Regions from separate parts of the Homo sapiens genome. Here regions 2 and 3 are each linked to region 1. Evidence: promoter capture Hi-C in human tissues and cell types (Jung and others, 2019). All regions are on one chromosome and are shown on one strand. Each heading gives the region's core, a stretch centred on a gene start or on the middle of the fragment in contact. The rest is flanking DNA. Distances are from core to core; before and after follow the strand shown. Region 1 holds the start of MYO18B (myosin XVIIIB). Region 2 has its middle 92 kb from the start of LINC02559. Region 3 overlaps LOC124905095 (a long non-coding RNA gene).

Region 1 (3,255 bases), core at 268-2,767:
GGCAGGTGACATCAAATATTTGTTGATTGGTAACATGCAGCCCTTCAAAAGCCAGGAGACCAGGAGACTCCCTCTCCTCCTCCTCTTCCTCCTTCTCCTCCCTCCTCCACCCACTTGGCCTTTTCTTTTGGCCTTTTCCTTTGCTATTATTCTTCTCCTCCTTCTTCTCTTTCTCCTCCTGCTTTTTTCCTCCTCCTCCTTCTCTTCTTCTCCTTCTCCTCCTCCTCTTCCTTCTTTTCTCTCTCTCCTCTCCACTATTATTTTCTAGAACTCATCCATAGCCTAAGAGTATATAGACCCCTCTCTTTTCTGCTCCCAAGGTACACACTGGACATGGTACCCAGGCATAGGAGAATACAACTTAGGTCAGCAATGGATACAGCACCCAAGGCCACCATTATCCTTGTTGGAGTCTAGAAGCCCTAGTGGGACACTCAGCCTCCATGAGCTGGTGCACTGAATGAGGCAGCATCTTTTTGGACAGCCACAAAGTGAAAGTAACAGCCTCGTCGTATTCCAGGCCCTACAGGATAGAAGCCCAGATCCCCACACTTGCGGGTTGAGGCCAGACTGGACAGCTTGGAGCCGACTGGGAGCCGACTGGGCTCCCCATTCCGGGCCTCCCCACTCCTGGCCTCCTCCATGGAAAAGCTGCAGGAAGGCAGCAGCCCAGAGGCCTGTAGCTGGTGAGGTCTTCTCCTCTCCTGGGAGAGAGCTCCATGTCAAAGCATAGCCCCCTTCTGCCCCACTATGGGGCCACTGGGACCTGTGAATCTTCTTCATTCAGAGAAATGCCTGCTATCCGGGGTGCCAGATAAGACACCTTCCCTCAGACAGAGCTCAAGGAAGGTGGCATGAAATTGAAACCTTCAGCCATGAACTTCCATTGCCCTTCCCCCAACACTCATACATGCTTAATTTGCAGTTTAAAAAAGAACATTAAAATTAACATTTCGACTCAACAGCGTTGTTAACACGAAAGGGGAAGCCTGGCTCTTCCCCGACCATAACTGAACACCAGTGAAGCAGAAATTACTGGTAGTTGAGGAAAAATATAAACCCTGACGTCTGCGGGCAAAGATTCACAGTGGAGATTAACTCATGATTCTAAACACATTTTTAAAAATTATTAGCGAACAGCTGGGGCCTGAGGAGAGTGATTCTTACGAATGTCCATTTGCCCCAGCATTTTGTTCTCAAATCCTTCCACCGAAACACTCTTGTTTTCAAAGTGAGCAGCACGGGCAACAGGCAAAGGAATCAGGCCTCGGAAGCTCTCAACACCAGAAAGGCCTAAAATAGACCAAAAGACCGGAGGCCTGCCACCGCAGCCCCCAGCAGCGCATTCCGGAAAATTAAAACTCGCCGATCCGCTCGCAAGGTGCCCGTCTAAAACCCAGCCCAATAGTACCTTCTGCAAAGAGGACACAGATCACAGGAACCACGACTGTCTAAGACGTCTCCCCGGGTGGCCGCGAAGGGACCCCACCGAGCCGGGAAAGCAGGAGCGAAGGAGCACCCTCTCCACACACACCGACACACATCCCTTCCCCTTACTGCCCCTCCCCGACCCGTCCTCCCCCCACCCTCCTTCTGGGCCAATGTGATAGCAGCAGCTGAGTCGACCAGTCATTTCTAAAATTAGCTTGTGAGCTCCAGGTCTGGCCAGGAGACGGCAGCCCGGGGTGGCCGTTGACCAGGCAGCAGAGACCATGGACATATTTGGTGGCCCCTGAGCAGGGAAGGGGACAGCTCTGGACACAAGCACATGCTCTCTCGTCATCCCTGTCCCAGGGCAGGGCCACACACCCACACTCCCGCCTCTGCCCACACAGATAACCAGAGGTTGCAGGAACTGTTTGAGGAGGAGAGCTGGCCGGTTCTACATTCCAGGCAGACTCTGGAAGAAAATAACTTGAATGAATGCTGGTGCGTCGTGGTAAACAACCAGTGCATGTAAACATACCTTATGCTTAGGTAGTGGTTATCGCATGCCACACACCGAGGGCTTTCATGAACTCACTTAATGTTCCCTATGAGGTAGGGTTTTTCCCCAGCCCCACTTTACAAGTGGGGAAATTGAGACACAAAAAGTTAACCAACTTGCCCAAGGCCATGGAGAGCCAGAATTCAAACCCAGGCTGTGCGGGCCGTAGAGGAAACAGACACAACAGCAAACTAGGGGCTATAAAAAAGTGCTTTGGGCCTGGCACGGTGGCTCACGTCTGTAATCCCGGCACTTTGGGAAGCCGAGGTGGGCATATCACGAGGTCAGGAGATTGAGACCATCCTGGCTAACACAGTGAAACCCCGTCTCTACTAAAAATACAAAAACAAAATTAGCCGGGCGTGGTGGTGGGCGCCTGTAGTCCCAGCTACAGGCGGAGCTTGCAGTAAGCCGAGATCGCGCCACTGCACTCCAGCCTGGGTGACAGAGAGAGACTCCATCTCAAAAAAAAAAAAAAAAATCAGCTGGGTGGGGTAGTGGTTGTCTGTGATCCCAGCTACTTGGGAGGCTGAGGCAGGAGAATTGCTTGAACCCAGGAGGCGGAGGTTGCAATGAGCTAAGGTCACGCCACTGCACTCTAGCCTAGGCGATAAGAGACTCTATCTCAAAAAAACAACAACAAAAAAAGTGCTTTGTCCACTGCCTAAAAGGAGCAAAGTACAGACTTCAATAAATTGGATAAACCATGCAGGTCCATGCAGCTAGCAAAGGGTAGAGTCATGACTCAAATCCAAGTCTTTCTGGTTCCAAAGACCGCAATCAGCCCAGCATGATACTGCTCCTGTGAGAATTGTTTCAATAATTGCTATGTGGTGCTGCTCCTCTTTCCCCAGAGCTCATCGAGCAATATTTTCCCAAAGTACTCACTTCTGCCGAGGTCTTGAAAATTAGCATTCAATCAGAAGTTCATTGAAACACTAAGGGAAGGCTGCTTAGAAAATGGCAGTCTAGGCCGGGTATGGTGGCTCACACCTGTAATCCCAGCACTTTGGGAGGCTAAGGCGGGTGGATCATTTGAGGTCAGGAGTTTGAGACCAGCCTAGCCAACATGGTGAAACCCCACCTCTACTAAAAATACGAAAATTAGCTGGGCGTGGTGGCGGGCACCTGTAATCCCAGCAACTCGGGAGGCTGAGGCAGGAGAATAGCTGGAACCCAGGAGTCAGAGGTTGCAGTGAGCAGAGATGGCGCCATTGCACTCCAGCCTGGGCGACAAGAGCAAAACTACATTTTGAAAAAAAAAAGAA
Region 2 (3,255 bases), core at 190-2,689, 320 kb before region 1:
CTCTGAGAAGTCCTGTATTGAAGAGACCTCTTTTAATTTGTTTAATCCAGTATTTTCTTAAATGTTCTGACCACTGATTTTTTTTGTTTTTCAGCATCAATTTTTAAATCATGGAAAAATGATGGGCTAGGAAGGGCCAAGATTCAAATGTTGACAGCATCAAAGCCAAACAATCTGTGGTAGGAGTGAGGTTGGAGTTATTATTCTAGGCTGGAGTTGGGCAGAGGTGTGTTGGGAGTGTGAGCACTGTGGAAACAAGCAAAGAGCATCAGAAGAATGACCTTTCTCGGTGGTAGATGACCTTTCTCGGTGGTAGATGACCTTTCTTGGTGGTAGATGACGTTTCTCGGCAATAGGGACACAGGAACTGAGAGCTATGATAGTGCCACCTCCCTGGGGTCCCATCTCACTGTGAGCAGCAGAGAGATATTTGAGGATGGAGATGGATATTCATCTGGTGAGGCTAGAGAAGCCCATGATTGTAGCAAGGACTCCTTAGCTAATGAAGCTGTCTGCTCCAACAATTTGGAAGAACACAGCCACCCAGTATTCAAAGCAAAACTCCAACAGCCCCATCAAGGTGGAAAACAGAAAGCAGACCCTAACAGGACTTTGGTGCTATGGCCAGGATTCAGGGTCAGGACCTGGACCTGTCAGGATCCAACCAACAAAACAGAAACAAATCTATGGATTTAAAATCAGGAATTTGATAAAAGAAACTGGTTATACAGGGGATGGAAGGGCTGAGGAATTTACTAACAACCATGGGATATCACAGAGAACAGTACAGCAGGAAGCTCCTACCACCTCCTGGCTGGAGGGTCAAAGGACAGTGTTACTGGAGTCCAGGGTCTGGGGCTCCTCAGCAGAAGCTGGCACTACAGGGGGCCAAGCCAACAGTAGCTGGGGCTACAGAAGGTTCACAGTTGCCACTGGAGATGCTGACTGAATTGTGTGTGTGTGTGTGTGTGTATGTGTGTGCATATGTGGTATGTGTGTATATGTGTGTTCATGTGTGCATATGTGGTGTGTGCATGTGTATGTGTGAATGTATGTGTGTATATGTATGTTTGTGTATATGTGTGTATATGTGTATATGTAAAACTGTGTGTTTGTGTATATATGTATATGTGTATATTGTGTATATGTATATATGTATGCATGTGTTTATGTGCATATATGTGCATATGTGTATATGTATAAATGTATGCATGTTTGTATGTATATGTGTATATGTATATATGTGTGCATGTGTATATGTATGTGTGCATGTGTGTATGTATGTACATATGTGTGTAGTGTGCATGTGTGCGTATGTATAAATGTGTGGATGTGTGTATATGTATATTTGTGTATATGTGTATGTGTGTATACATATCTGTGTGTGTATACGTGTGTATGTGTGTGTTTAATCTTCTCCCTCTTTAGTCTACTGTCAGTATCTGCCATTGCTGAATCCAGACAGAAGCCAGTTGACCCAGGAGCCTCAAACACACCTGTGGGAGACAGCTCCTTTGCAACTTCCTGCATTGCAGAACAGAGCAGGGAAAAGGTCAGGAGGTCATGGACCAGCAGAATCCAGCTTCAAAACACAAGGTTAGGTGGTTTCTCTGATATTTCCTTAAATCAGGGGTTGGTGAACTTTTTCCTATAAAGAGCCAGGTAGTACATACTTTAGGCTCTGTGAGCCATTCAGGGTATTTGGTCTCTGCTGCAGCTACTCAAATCTTCTGTTGTAGTTCAAAGCAGCCATAGACCATATGTAAACAAATTATATGTTCTGATGAAACTATATAAAAACAAGGAGTGAGTAGAATGTGGCCCACAGGCCATAGTTCCCTGGTCCCTGCCCTAGAGAGCTCACTAAAGGACGCTGGGGATGTACGAATGCTTTACTTCTTTCAACAGGAACAGAATCCTGTACTGCACTGATCACAAGGCTAATAAAATAATCATTTAAAAGAAACATTTTTATGCTTAAAGTTGTTTCCCCAGAATTCTGACTAGCAAAGTCTGTCCTCAGCTGTCACAATAATCGACCACATTATTCTCACATGTGTCTTTAGGACATGCCAACACGTTGCAACCTAGTGCCATACACCTTCTCCAGCCTTTCCCAGGACAGCATGCAATTTCTTCTTCCAAGAGCTCCAGGCACAAGGGAAATGTGAACAACAGGGGGTTGATTTTGAATTGTACGTAATTAACCACAAGTCAAGGGCTGATCTCTCATTGCAGAGGCTAATTCTGTCTGTGGAATTGTGAGACTAATTCTATACAATGCATTCTTGGGGTTAGAAGATGGAGTTTGGGAGGCAGTGGCAACATGTTCAAGTGGAAATTGATCCAAAGTGGTGCAGACAGCTGCTTAGCCCAGGAAGACACCGTCCTCTTTCCCAAACTCAGGGCATCCTCAATGGGCACCTGAGCTTCCCTTGCCTATGAAAGGGGCTTGGTTCTAAATTTTGACACATTCCTGACATAGAATTTCTCCCTTGATGAACAACTTCTCTAGAAAACTCTCATTTCTTAGAATTCCAAAGTGGAAATGCTTATCCTGGCATTTGCATAATTCCTCTTTTCCCACCCTGGAGTTGGGCTGTTCTATACTTAATAACTCACACAATCTCCGTCTCATTCACTCCACATTTGGGTCCTCTTCCTTTAGTTCTTTTGACTCCATTTGCTAATGCTTCCAAGATCCATCATCCCAGTAGCCATTGCCTTTGAAGAGGTAAAGTAACAAGCAAGATGACATAGACTTGTTTGGCTGGAAGAGTCTTGACAGAATTTGCTGACCACGTGGCATTCACCACTTCTGGGAGTCAGAAAATGTCCTTGTCCAAGTCTACCTCATAGTGGGAAACAGTCCCAAAGGTTTTGGGAGGGCCTATATTATATTGTCCTTTTCTCCCAATTCTATAACCTTTTCTTTTATCATGGTCACTTATTTTAAAAAGGTGAAGAGGCAAAGAGAAGAGCTATCTTACTCACAAGTGTTGATATGCAACAAATTAATACTTTTAACCTGCTCCTTCCACCCTTAAATCTCAGCTTTGTCCATGTCTTAGTCCATTTAGTGTTGCTATAAAGGAATTCCTGAGGCTGCGTAATTATAAAGAAAAGAGGATTTTTTGACTCATGGTTCTGCAGGCTGTACAAGAAACAGTATCTGCATCTGGTGAGGGCCTCAAGCTGCTTCCACTCATGATGGAAGACAAAGGTGAGTGTATGTGCAGGGATCCCACAGTGAGA
Region 3 (3,255 bases), core at 526-3,025, 320 kb after region 1:
CTTTAAGGACTGTCAGTGTTCCTAGAAAATTATAAAGAATCTTTAAAATGTTGTTTCAGACCTTCCTATCATATTTATGAATACTTTGAAAGGACAAGCTTTGCAATAGGTGATCCAACATTTGAAATGTCCAGTAAATAGAAATGAGACTCCAGGGGAAAGATGAAGTTCACATTACTCAACCTCTTTCAACTATGTGTGATTTCAAGTCATCTGAATTTCATTCTGTTTTTAAAAAGAGTAACAAAGTAATACCGCCTACAGTAAAAGTCGTCTGAATCACTTGAGGGCTTAAGATGTTGACCCTTTGTGGGACTTTGCTTGTGAATTAGACCTTACTTAAATAAAAGTATTTCTTGGCCAGGCGCGGTGGCTCATGCCTGTAATCCCAGCACTTTGGGAGGCCGAGGTGGGTGGATCATGAGGTCAGGAGATGGAGACCATCCTGGCTAACACAGTGAAACCCCGTCTCTACTAAAAAAAAAAACAAAATACAAAAAAAAATTAGCCAGGCATGGTGGCGGTGCCTGTAGTCCCAGCTACTCGAGAGGCTGAGGCAGGAGAATGGCATCAACCTGGGAGGCAGAGCTTGCAGTGAGCCCAGGTCACGCCACTGCACTCCAGCCGGGGTGACAGAGCAAGACTCCATCTCAAAAAAAAAAAAAAAGTATTTCTTTTCCAACATGATGTAAAACAACTGGCCTGCACATCTAAATGCTCCTGTTTTAACTGGGCCTGCAAGGGAGTCTGTGGGTCACAGTTTACTACTCCCAGTAGGCCCCATTATCAGCTACATTAGCTCAACAACATTTCAGTAAACTAAAGCAGCTATACCATTTGGACAAATAGTCAGCTTTTCCAGGATTTGCACTCATTGGTTAATTGAATAATGTGTCAACATAACAAAATGTGTGCCTCTTGCCATCTCAGGGAAGCAAAATCTCCCCTAGACAGAATGTTCCATTTTCTGAGACTCTCCTGTAATAGGCAGGAAACTGCAGACCCATTGTTTCATTTAAATTAGCTAGATATTTCGTTCTGATGCTCTTCTGTTTTAAAATTGTGGAAAAGGCAAAGTAACTAAAATAAGGAAGCACCAAGAATAGTGACTTCAAATAATTAGCTGGAAATAAAAAAATCACTAGTGATAGACCAAAGGCAAATTAAAATGTATGCTTCTCATTCAGATACTAAAAATACAAATCTGAACATCTCTTTCAAGAATACCAAAAACTGGCGGTCACATGGCTTCCTCTATAATGAAGCTGATATAGAAACTCTTGTCAAAAAACACTTGACCCGAATCCCTTTTACCAACAGCGTGAAGTCATACCAGCCATTTAAGTCATTAGGCTGAGACTTTTAACACGCAATTAACTTTCTTACAGGATCTAGAAATTCCCCAACCCCCAACCTCCAAATCAAACAGGTAGGCTACTGACTGCCATCCCGTGGTAGAGAGAATTTTGCAAGATGTTTTACCTGATAATCTCAATGTAACAGAATCCTAACACAGCACAAGGAGTGACTGTTACTATGTAAATGGCTACATTATAAAACTAAAGCCAAAGCCACTAAGATAAGTAGAAAACAGGCCGGGGTGCGGTGGCTAAGGCCTGTAATCCCTTCACTTTGGGAGGCCAAGGTGGGCGGATCATGAGGTCAGGAGTTCGAGACCAGCCTGACCACCATGGTGAAAGCCCATCTCTACTAAAAATGCGAAAAAAATTAGCCAAGTGTGGTGGCAGGCGCCTGTGGTCCCAGCTACTCAGGAGGCTGAGGCAGGAGAATCACATGAACCTGGGAGGCAGAGGTTGCAGTCAGCCAAGATTGTGCCACTGCACTCCAGCCTGGGCGACAGAGCTAGACTCCATCTCAAAAAAAAAAAAAAAAAAAAGAAAAGAAAAAAGGAAACAAATTGGAATCTCAGGAGGAGGTTCCAATGGCCCAATTGGAGAGTCTATTTTAAAAAGAGCAACAGAATAACAATTACTGAAGGGCTGTTTCCTAAAATTACTCTCTGGTTGGTATTTCTCAGTTTTCAAATGTCACGAGAAATATGCTGGCTGTCACTTACTCTGCCTTAAAGCATTAACAAAGAATACCACTGAAAAACAAAGGCATTCATACAAGGAAGTGAACATCCTAAGCACATAAGTATGTTCTTAAGAGGGACACTAAAAAAGGAAACCCCAAGAAAAAAAATAAAAACTGAACAGAAGTTCCTAACTTTAGTAATATTATATACTACCCCCCCCCAAAAAAACTGCCCATGAGTTGAGATTTATCAATTTTATATCTAGAAACCCTACATATTCAGGACTCCCTGACCTTGGGTGGCGGAGGGACACTAGGAAAGGCAAGAGAAAAAGGAATTTTCTACCACCTTTATAGAAATATTCAGTTTTTTTGGTGAAATTTAGGTTTGATATAGGAGTTCTTGTTCTCTAAGTAAGTTTCCCATTTGCCAGAAATTTTAAGCAGCATTGATTTTTTCAATTAGCTTCTGATATGCTACACTCTGGCATAGGGGTGTTAAACTCACGACATTGCAGAAGGGTTTGCACTTTTTCCTTATTTTCACTACTTGGCATTGTCTATCAAAGAGTAGCACATCCTGCAAAACCAACAAGAGGCATGGGCTAAGGAGGGAGAAGCAAGCCCAAAATATCTAGCAAGCATGTCTTCATTTGCACAATTTAGCTTTTTCACAAGAAATAACAAGGGGACTGGTATTTTCTGTATCATAGGGCTCATAGATGGACTTGTAAAAAAATCACATTATGATCACTTAGCATTAGGTAACATTTAAGCAATTTTGGGCGCCTAACACTTGAAGGACTGATGATTTCAAATGGACAATAACTTTGGTTTAAATTCCAACATTTTATAGAATTGCATGGTTTCAAATTCACCATAAAGAAAATGCCTCTTTTGAGCATCAATTCAAAGAGCTATTTAGCATTAAGGAACCTCATTAGCTGTACAACTCATGATGGTGTTAATTAGGAAAGGAGCTAGAGAAAAAAAAATCCATCGCTGAAGCCTTGATACATTATTTAAAACTCACTATTAACCTGATGAACTATTTTTTTCCGGGGAAGTGCTAATGACATGAGCTGGCAAAAAATTTTACTAGTTCCTTAATAATAAATCATTTGAGGGAAAATTGCAACTTGGTATGGACCTCACCGAGCCCCTCGCCAATTCAATCAGGCCCTCCTTTGATAATTTAACAACAAATTCCTGTCTGGA

Evidence for each region. The method cuts DNA at HindIII sites, captures the fragments that hold promoters and counts their contacts. A contact is called where the count stands out against the background at its distance.
Region 2: a contact is called between a fragment that was not itself captured here and the fragment with the promoter of MYO18B in region 1, in 1 of the 25 tissues and cell types used here (dorsolateral prefrontal cortex).
Region 3: a contact is called between a fragment that was not itself captured here and the fragment with the promoter of MYO18B in region 1, in 2 of the 25 tissues and cell types used here (H1 embryonic stem cells and dorsolateral prefrontal cortex).

Annotation. Positions count from the first base shown.
Region 1 is chr22:25,740,450-25,743,704 of GRCh38, reverse strand. MYO18B (myosin XVIIIB) reads right to left here and starts at 1,517. Exons shown (of 44, transcript NM_032608.7): 1 at 1,412-1,517. The HindIII fragment of the contact is 19,978 bases long and covers 1-3,255 here.
Region 2 is chr22:26,058,724-26,061,978 of GRCh38, reverse strand. It overlaps a transcript of MYO18B not described here. Among named protein-coding and RNA genes, the nearest start is that of LINC02559, 92 kb to the left of the region's middle. The HindIII fragment of the contact is 7,714 bases long and covers 1-3,255 here.
Region 3 is chr22:25,422,079-25,425,333 of GRCh38, reverse strand. LOC124905095 (a long non-coding RNA gene) reads left to right here. Exons shown (of 2, transcript XR_007068037.1): 1 at 1-3,255. Among named protein-coding and RNA genes, the nearest start is that of MIR6817, 32 kb to the left of the region's middle. The HindIII fragment of the contact is 5,143 bases long and covers 1-3,255 here.